Regions from separate parts of the Homo sapiens genome. Here region 1 is linked to region 2. The links are contacts of gene promoters, found by promoter capture Hi-C in human tissues and cell types (Jung and others, 2019). All regions are on one chromosome and are shown on one strand. The core of a region is centred on a gene start or on the middle of the fragment in contact, and the rest is flanking DNA. Distances in the headings are between cores, read along the strand shown. Region 1 overlaps PCDHGA1 (protocadherin gamma subfamily A, 1). Region 2 holds the start of PCDHB2 (protocadherin beta 2).

The links. The method cuts DNA at HindIII sites, captures the fragments that hold promoters and counts their contacts. A contact is called where the count stands out against the background at its distance.
Region 1: a contact is called between a fragment that was not itself captured here and the fragment with the promoter of PCDHB2 in region 2, in 1 of the 25 tissues and cell types used here (H1 embryonic stem cells).

The regions. Positions count from the first base shown.
Region 1 is chr5:141,459,932-141,464,557 of GRCh38, forward strand. All of the region lies in intron 1 of PCDHGA1 (protocadherin gamma subfamily A, 1), which reads left to right. All of the region lies in intron 1 of PCDHGA2 (protocadherin gamma subfamily A, 2), which reads left to right. The region is part of intron 1 of PCDHGA3 (protocadherin gamma subfamily A, 3); the gene reads left to right. The region is part of intron 1 of PCDHGB1 (protocadherin gamma subfamily B, 1); the gene reads left to right. It also overlaps PCDHGA4, PCDHGB2, PCDHGA5, PCDHGB3, PCDHGA6 and PCDHGA7, and 10 more genes. Among named protein-coding and RNA genes, the nearest start is that of PCDHGC3, 14 kb to the right of the region's middle. The HindIII fragment of the contact is 8,589 bases long and covers 1-4,626 here.
Region 2 is chr5:141,091,040-141,096,381 of GRCh38, forward strand. PCDHB2 (protocadherin beta 2) reads left to right here and starts at 3,576. Exons shown (of 1, transcript NM_018936.4): 1 at 3,576-5,342. The coding sequence starts at 3,752. It also overlaps PCDHB@. The HindIII fragment of the contact is 14,626 bases long and covers 1,666-5,342 here.

The DNA of each region.
Region 1 (4,626 bases), core at 643-3,142, 370 kb after region 2:
GCTGGGCGTGATGGCAGGTGCCTGTAATCCCAGCTACTCAGGAGGCTGAGACAGGAGAATCGCTTGAACCCAGGAGGCGGAGGTTGCAGTGAGCCGAGACTGCACCACTGCACTCCAGCCTGGGCAACAGAGTGAGACTTCATCTAAAAAATAATAATTATACATGTAATTATATATGATTTTTATATATGTAATATATATATTCTTGATGTGAGCTCTTTGTCACATACATATTTTGTGGATATTTTATCCCAGACTATGACTTGTCTTTTCATTTTCTTAGTTGTGTCTTTTGAAGAGCAGAAGATGTAATTTTGATAAAGCCCAATTTATTTTTTCTTTTATAGTTTGTATTTCTTATGTCCTATTCAAAAACTCCTTGCCTACTGAAAACTTATGATGATTTTCTCCTATATTTTCTTTTAGAAGTTTTATAGTTTTACCATTTATAATTTGGTCTATGAATCCTTTTGAGTTGATGTTTATGTATGGTGTATGGTGTGAGGTAACAATGAAGATTCATATTTTTTTCCAAAGGAATATCCAATTGTCTCTTTGGAAAAATATGCTGAGAAGGCTATCTTTTCCCCACCAAATAATCTTAGCACCTTAATCAAAAATCATTTGGCCATGGACATATGTAGGTGTGGGTTTTTTCTGGGCTCTCTGTGTTAGATGGATAGATAGACAGATACAGATATATAACTGTGTTTACACATATGTAACTGTAAACACAGTTATATATCTATATATCCACCAACAGTTGAATGAGAATAAACTATTGTTATAAGCATATATACACATTGTATATATATGTGTACATATACATATTGCATATGTATGTATACATATATACACACAAAGTATATATATGTATGTATACATATATACACACTTAAAGTAATGGCCTCCAGTTCGATCCAAGTTGCTGCAAAGGACATTATTTCATGCCTTTTCGTGGCTGAGTAATATTCCATGGTGTATATATATATATGTGTGTGTGTATATATATGTATTATGTATATATATATGTGTGTGTGTGTGTGTGTGTGTATATATATATATGTGTATATATATATACCACATTTTCTTTATCCACTCATTAGTCGATGGGGACTTAGGTTGGTTTCACATTTTTGCAATTGTGAATTGTGCTGCTATAAACATATGTGTCCAAGTGTCTTTTTCATATAATTACTTATTTTCCTTTGGGTAGATACCCAATAGTGGGATTGCTGGATTGAATGGTAGATCTGTTTTTTGCTCTTTAGAGAATCTCCATACTGTTTTCCATAGAGGTTGTACTAATTTATATTCCCAGCAGCAATGTGTAAGTGTTCTCTTTTCCCCACATCCACACCAACATCTATTGTTTTTTGACTTTTTAATAATGGCCATTCTTGCAGGACCAAGGTGGTAGCTCGTTGTGGTTTTAATTTGCATTTTCCTGATGATTAGCGATGTTGAGCATTTTTTCATATGTTTGTGGGCCATTTGTATACCTTCTTTTGAGAAATGGCTATTTGTGTCCTTTGCCTACTTTTTAATGGGATTGTGTTTTATTTTTCTTGGTGATTTGTTAGTTCCTTGTAGATTCTGGATACTAGTCCTTTGTCAGATGTGTACTTTGCAAAGATAATATTTTGGATGTTATATTTCCATTATAATTTAGTTCAAAGTATTTTCTAATACACCTTGCAATTTCTTCTTTGACCCATGGATTATTTTAAAGTTTGTTATTTTGTTTGTTTATTTTGAGACAGAGTTTCACTTTTTTTGCCCAGGCTGGAGTGCAGTGGCACAATCCCGGCTCCCAGATTCAAGCGATTCTCCTGCCTCAGCCTCCCAAGTAGCTGGGATTACAGGTGCCCACCACCACACCCAGCTAATTTTTTTTTCTTTTTTTTTTGAGACAGAGTTTTGCTCTTGTTGCCCAGGCTGGAGTGCAATGGCACGATCTCGGCTCACTGCAACCTCTGCCTCCTGGGTTCCAGCAATTCTCCTGCCTCAACCTCCTGAGTAGCTGGGATTCCAGGCATATGCCACCACGCCAGGCTAATTTTGTATTTTTAATAGAGACGGGGTTTCTTCATGTTGGTCAGGCGGGTCTTGAACTCCCGACCTCAGGTGATCTGCCCGCCTTGGCCTCCCAAAATGCTGGGATTACAGGCATGAGCCACTGCACCCAGTCCAATTTTTTGTATTTTTAGTAGAGATGGGGTTTCATCATGTTGGCCAGGCTGGTCTTGAACTCCTGACCTCAGGTGATCCGCCTGCCTCGGCCTCCCAAAGTGCAGGGATTACAGGTATGAGCCACCATGACCAGCCTAAAGTGTATTGTTTAGTCACCAAATATGTAAGTATTACCCAAATATATTTGTCACTGATTTCTAATTTAATTGTATTGTGATCCAAAAATATACATTGTATAGTTTCTATTCTTTTAAATTCGTTAACATTTCTTTTATGGCACAGAATATGGTCTATCTTGGTGAGTGTTGCTTACACACAACTGTGTAACTGAAAACTGTGTATTCTGCTTCTCGTGGTTGTTGTATCCTATAATTGTCAACTAGATCAAGTTAGTAAGAGTGTTGTTCAGTGATCTTTTCTTCTTCAGTGTTTACTGTATTTGCTAATCCCATCCAGTGAAGTTTCCATTTCATATATTGTATTTTTCACTTTTAGAAGTTCCATTTGACTCTTTCATTTCCATCCTCAATTATCTTCATATTTTTCTTTAAATTTTTGAGCACATTTATAATGGAGGTTTTAAAGTCCTTGTCTGCTAATTTTGTCACCTCTGTAATTCCTATGATGATTTTCTTCCTGGCTTGGGGTCATAATTTGTTGCTTATTTGCATGTCTAATAATGTTTTTATTGGACAGCAGACATTGTAAATGTTATATTTTTGAGTGTTTGGATTTTGTCTTTCTTTAAGAACTATTGCAGTTTGTTTTGGAAGGCTATTATGTTTTTTGCAGATCAGGTTGATCTTTTCAAGGCTTGTTTTTAAGCTTTGTTAGGACAGGTCTGTAGTAACTTTTGCCTTGGGCTAATTTAGACCTACCACTTAATTCTGACTTTTTTGATTAATCTGAGTGTTCAGCAGGGTCTCTTTATTATGGCTAAATGAAATTCAAACATTTTCCAGCCCTATGTGACCATCAAGAATTCAGCTAATAGCTCCCTGGCAGTTCTTCGCCCAGCTGCAGAAAAGTGTCAGTGCACTCTATGTATGCTCAGATTATTATTTAGCCAAAGACTTGGGGATCCATATTAATATTCCTGGAGTTCTTTGTGTAGCTCCATTCTCTTTAGTACTCTATCCCATAAATTCTGGCTGCCTCAATCTCCTAATCTCCCCAAACTCTAATATCTATTCCTCAACTCAGCAAAACCATGGTGTTATTCTTGGATTTCCCCTTTCCTGCCCCACAGTCTGAAAGTTGTCTCCAGGCAAAAAAAATGGAGATCCTAGTTTGCGGATCCTCATTTCCTTCTCCTTTTTTTTTTTTTTTTTTTTTTTTTTTTGAGATGGAGTCTCGCTCTGTCACCCAGGCTGGAGTGACGTGGCGTGATCTCGGCTTACTAGAAACTCCGGCTCCCGGGTTCATGCCATTCTCCTGCCTCAGCCTCCCGAGTAGCTGGGACTACAGGTGCCTGCCACCATGCCCGGCTAATTTTTTGTATTTTGTTTAGTAGAGACGGGGTTTCACCGTGTTAGCCAGGATGGTCTGGATGACCTCGTGATCTGCTCACCTCGGCCTCCAAAAGTGCTGGGATTACAGGCATGAGCCACCGCGCCCGGCCTGCTTCTCTTCTCTTATGGGTTAGAATCCTGCACTGTCTTTTGAACAAATGTCTAAAAGCTTTTATCACACATTTTGATCCACTTCCCAGTTGTTATAGTGGTATATCTGGTTTCACATGACTGAAAGGAAAAGTTTTCACCTTGCTTTTTGTACTAATAATATATCCTGGAAATCATTCTATATAAATTTATAGAAATCTTCATTTTTAAAATAGCTTCATAAAACTCCATTGTAAAAACCAGGTGCAGTGGCTCATGCTTGTAATCCCACACTTTGGGAGGCCAAGGCGGGTGGATCACCTGAGGTCAGGAGTTCAAGGCCAGCCTGGCCAACATGGTGAAACTCCGTCTCTACTAAAAATACAAAAATTAGCTGGGTGTGGTGGTGGGCGCCTGTAGTCCCAGCTACTTGGAAGGCTGAGGCAGGAGAATTGCTTGATTTCAGGAGGCGGAGATTGCAGTGAGCTGAGATTGCGCCACTGCACTCCAGCCTGGGCTACAGAGCGAGACTCCGTCTAAAAAAAAAAAAAAGCAAAAAAAAAAACTCCATTGTATGTGCACATATCATTATCTGTTCAACCCATCTATGACTTGTCATTTAGGTAGTTTCCATCCAATATTTTTGCAATATAAAAAATGCTAATGAAGAACCTGAGATATATATATATCTATATATATAGATATATATGTTTGTTGTTGTTGTTGTTATTTTTGAAGTATGTACGTATAATAAATTCCTAATAGTGTGATTGCTGCATCATAAGGTAAAGGCATATGTAGTTTTGTTAAATATAGCTATTCCCCATCTTGC
Region 2 (5,342 bases), core at 2,326-4,825:
CCAAAAAAGAGAGAGGCAAGCTTAATTATGACAGATACTCAAACAATGTGTTCTTATTTAGTTTTTGAATGGCTGTACTTTTGTAATAAGACTGTAATGACTTGCTTTCATTTTTGGTATGTTTTTGAAAATATTTTTCTATTCCTGTATATGAAATTATTTGTGTAACATTTTAATATGTTAGATTTTATTAAATGAATCTTCAAAATTATGAAAGTGACTCCTAGGATAATGTCTCTGCTTGTGCAGCATATGAAAAGTAAAGCGAAACCTAAGAAATTAAACCTACTGTAATAACATAATTTTTAAATTATGCAATAGATTCCCCTCATTATAATATAAATAATTACTATATGTAAACATATTTCATTCAGACTTATAAATATGCTATAAATTATAATCTAATATATATGATTCCTTATTAAAGGAGATTAAGAAAATAAGAGCATTTGTAAAGAAGGAAGGTGTATTCTCATCAAGGTTTAAGAAAATAAATGATTTAAAATAGCATAGCGGATATAATGCATTTAAAGCTGGAAACCTATATACGAATATAAAATATTGGTGTTGGTTATATAATCTTTGAAAAAGAGAAACTTACTTCTATTTCTAGGTGTGTTAATAGCATTGAAATGAAAGATGGGTAAAACCTTCTGAATTGTGAGGACACATGACAACATGAGAGGTTTTAAAATTTTTTTCACAATAAAACCTAATGTGTTCTTGGTTATTGTATCCTCTGAAATATCTTAGATATTAAGTTTTCTATTCTCCAGCTTGTGAGAAGAGATTATGTTATTTTCTTCATATTACCTATTTTCCTCTCCTTTATGTTATCCCAAATTAACCATAACTGCTTTAGTTCAGAAAACCTGTCCAAAGGAAATAGCCATATACCTGGTTAAATATAAAATTTCGAGTAACCTACCAGTTATAATTTGCCTGTATGATATAACTGATCTTCACTACATCTATTTCGGACCCTAATCAGGTTTTGCAGATTATATAAAAAGCTGTTTTTAAAGACTTGGACCTTGGGTGTTATTCACCTCAATGAATTTGTTTAATGCTCAATGTCAATGAATTAACATATTTTGAATTATTATAACATCCATATAAAAGTAATAATCATGGAAAGCAAAAAATAATATCAACAGGTAGAGATAGGCATTTGTTTTCTAAATGTTAAGAAAAGGAACCTGTGATTATCCTTTTTTTAGCCAGTTACAAGATGATAAATGAGAGCTTTTTAAAATATTATGCTATTGTTACATTTAATAAATCATCCAGTCCAGTTTTCTGAAAATACAGGGGATAGAAGAACAGGTTAAATGATACCATGAGGAAACAATCAAATTTGGAATGTAGGACATCCTACAAAACAACTAGTCTGGACACTTCAGAAATCTAATGTCATTAAAGATGGGGGAGTATTCTAGAGTAAATAGATCTAATAGCCAAATACAATTATCAAAGTTGGTTGAAAAAGTTTCTAAGACATTCCTTATAACAAATAGTTAAAAAAGTAAGTGCATTTGTCAAAGGAACTTGAGTGAGTGTGAATTCTTATCAAAATTGAGGAAAAGATAATGGAAAGACAGTGAAATTTGATTGGGGCTGGATTTTAGATAACTGTAGAATTTTTTTAAATTTTCTTAGGTATGATAGAACCATTATGATTATATGAGATAATATTATAATTATGTGATACCTGCTGAAATATTTAGAGGTGAAATATGATGTCTGCAAGTTACTTTCATATAAGTCATCAGAAAAGCGGGTGTGTGTACAGAATAAGATAGAACAAATATGGTAAAATATAAACAATTGTTAAGTTTGGATGGAGGTTAGAGTTGTAGTTTATGTATAGTTCTTTTAACTGTTCTATATATTTAATTTTTTTCTTCATCCCCCAATTTTTTAACCCAATGGATCTTTTAGAGACACATCCTAATATTTATTATTATTATTATTATTTTGAGATGGAGTCTCGCTTTGTCACCAGGCTTGGAGTGCAATGGCATGATCTCAGCTCACTGCAATCTCCGCCTCCCGGGTTCAAGTGATTCTCCTGCCTCACCCTCCCAAGTAGCTGGGATTACAGGCACCCATCACCATGCCTGGCTCATTTTTTTTGTATTTTTAGTAGAGATGGGGTTTCACCAGGTTGGCCAGGATGGTCTTGATCTCTTGACCTCGTGATCTGCCTGCCTCGGCCTCCCAAAGTAAAATTATTTTTTAAAGCAGCCTTAGAGTTTACAGAAAATTGAGCAAATAGTACAAACAGTTCCCCTCACATACCGATTTTCTCCCACTCAAAGTTTCCCTGTTATCAAAATCTTGCATTACTGTGGTACATTTGTTACAATTGATGAGCCAATACTGGTAAATTATTAACTAAATTTCATAGTTTAGTGTTCACTCTTTGTGTTGTATAGTTCTGTGGATTTTGACAACGGCATAATGTCATGTATCTACCATTGTAGTATCGTAAAGTACCCCATGTTTAACCTCTTCATCCCCCTCCCTCTTCTTCCTAGCTATCACTTGTCTTTTAAATGTCTCTATAATTTGGCCTTTTTCAGAGTATCATGTAATTTGAATTATACAGTATCATTGCCTTTTCAGACTGGATTCTTTCACTGAGAAATATGCATTTAAGTTTCCTTCATGTCATTCTGTGGCTTGATAACTTCTTTATATTAACATTAAAAAAGAAACAAAAAGACAAAATTAAAAAACCTAACAACAAACAATGACATATATACCCTGTTTGGAAGCAGATTGAAGAAACCATCACTGAAAAGACATTTTTAAAGATAATTGGGGAAACTGGAATATTTACTGGCTATTTAATATTATGAAATTGCTCTTTGCTAGATGTGGTAATTGAATTGAGGTTATGTTGAAAGTTCTCCTAGGCATTAGAAAGGAAAATAATATTGATACATTTACAATAAGGAAATATCTGGCTGCTCTTGGAGAGTTTCATGAGGCTCAGACACATCAAAGTTCAGGAAAATGTGAAGTGGGAGCAGTGCAAAGAAAGAAATATGAGTAAGGAGACTATTTCAGTGCCCATTAAAATACTCTTATTTGGATTCTGTGCTTTTCCTGGGTCTCTGTTTTTCAGCTGGGTTTGAGTGTGATGATGGTAATCTAACCACCACTGAGTTGCACACATGCCCAAACTCTGAATAAAAATAGAACTTTCTTAGTCTAAGCCTTCTTTCCGAAGCATGCTAGGACTGAGATCACTCCCTTCCAGGTTCTGAAATTTATTTTTTCCAGTTTGAAAAAAAAAAAAAGCTTGGATTTGTGAGGGAAGTGAAGATTTATTTATTCTTGCCCTGTCTCTATGGGTGCAATGAAGAGCCTTTCGAAACGCCAATAAGACTTCGGTACACTGAGAGACACTACTTGAAAATACTCAATTTCGATTGCCATCAGCCTGAAAGAAAGCACTGGGATTTTCTTAAAGTTTAGGAGAAAATAAATACTCGGAAGAGACGCGGGGTGGCGCTGCAGCCTTAGAAGTAGCAGAAACAAAGCACCCAGCCGACGCTCCCTTACCCAGATACTCAGCTAAAGAAGCAGCAAGCAGGAAGAGGAGGCTTTCTAAGGCGGTCGCTCCGGGAAATCCGGGCCCTAGGATTGTCCACTCATCCCAGTATCAGCGAGATACGGGGAGATAGAGTTAGCGACAACGTGAGCCAGAGCTGGAGCACGTTTGGTGAGAGACCAGAAAGCAATGGAGGCCGGAGAGGGGAAGGAGCGCGTTCCGAAACAAAGGCAAGTCCTGATATTCTTTGTTTTGCTGGGCATAGCTCAGGCTAGTTGCCAGCCTAGGCACTATTCAGTGGCCGAGGAAACGGAGAGTGGCTCCTTTGTGGCCAATTTGTTAAAAGACCTGGGGCTGGAGATAGGAGAACTTGCTGTGAGGGGGGCCAGGGTCGTTTCCAAAGGAAAAAAAATGCATTTGCAGTTCGATAGGCAGACCGGGGATTTGTTGTTAAATGAGAAATTGGACCGGGAGGAGCTGTGCGGCCCCACAGAGCCCTGTGTCCTACCTTTCCAGGTGTTACTAGAAAATCCCTTGCAGTTTTTTCAGGCGGAGCTACGGATTAGGGACGTAAATGATCATTCCCCAGTTTTCCTAGACAAAGAAATACTTTTGAAAATTCCAGAAAGTATCACTCCTGGAACTACTTTCTTAATAGAACGTGCCCAGGACTTGGATGTAGGAACCAACAGTCTCCAAAATTACACAATCAGTCCCAATTTCCACTTTCATCTTAATTTACAAGACAGTCTCGATGGCATAATATTACCACAGCTGGTGCTGAACAGAGCCCTGGATCGCGAGGAGCAGCCTGAGATCAGGTTAACCCTCACAGCGCTAGATGGCGGGAGTCCACCCAGGTCCGGCACGGCCCTGGTACGGATTGAAGTTGTGGACATCAATGACAACGTCCCAGAGTTTGCAAAGCTGCTCTATGAGGTGCAGATCCCGGAGGACAGCCCCGTTGGATCCCAGGTTGCCATCGTCTCTGCCAGGGATTTAGACATTGGAACTAATGGAGAAATATCTTATGCATTTTCCCAAGCATCTGAAGACATTCGCAAAACGTTTCGATTAAGTGCAAAATCGGGAGAACTGCTTTTAAGACAGAAACTGGATTTCGAATCCATCCAGACATACACAGTAAATATTCAGGCGACAGATGGTGGGGGCCTATCTGGAACTTGTGTGGTATTTGTCCAAGTGATGGATTTGAATGACAATCCTCCGGAACTAACTATGTCGACACTTATCAATCAGATCCCAGAAAACTTGCAGGACACCCTCATTGCTGTATTCAGCGTTTCAGATCCTGACTCCGGAGACAACGGAAGGATGGTGTGCTCCATCCAAGATGATCTTCCTTTTTTCTTGAAACCTTCTGTTGAGAACTTTTACACTCTGGTGATAAGCACGGCCCTGGACCGGGAGACCAGATCCGAATACAACATCACCATCACCGTCACCGACTTCGGGACACCCAGGCTGAAAACCGAGCACAACATAACCGTGCTGGTCTCCGACGTCAATGACAACGCCCCCGCCTTCACCCAAACCTCCTACACCCTGTTCGTCCGCGAGAACAACAGCCCCGCCCTGCACATCGGCAGCGTCAGCGCCACAGACAGAGACTCGGGCACCAACGCCCAGGTCACCTACTCGCTGCTGCCGCCCCAGGACCCGCACCTGCCCCTCGCCTCCCTGGTCTCCATCAACGCGGACAACGGCCACCTGTTCGCTCTCCAGTCGCTGGACTACGAGGCCCTGCAGGCGTTCGAGT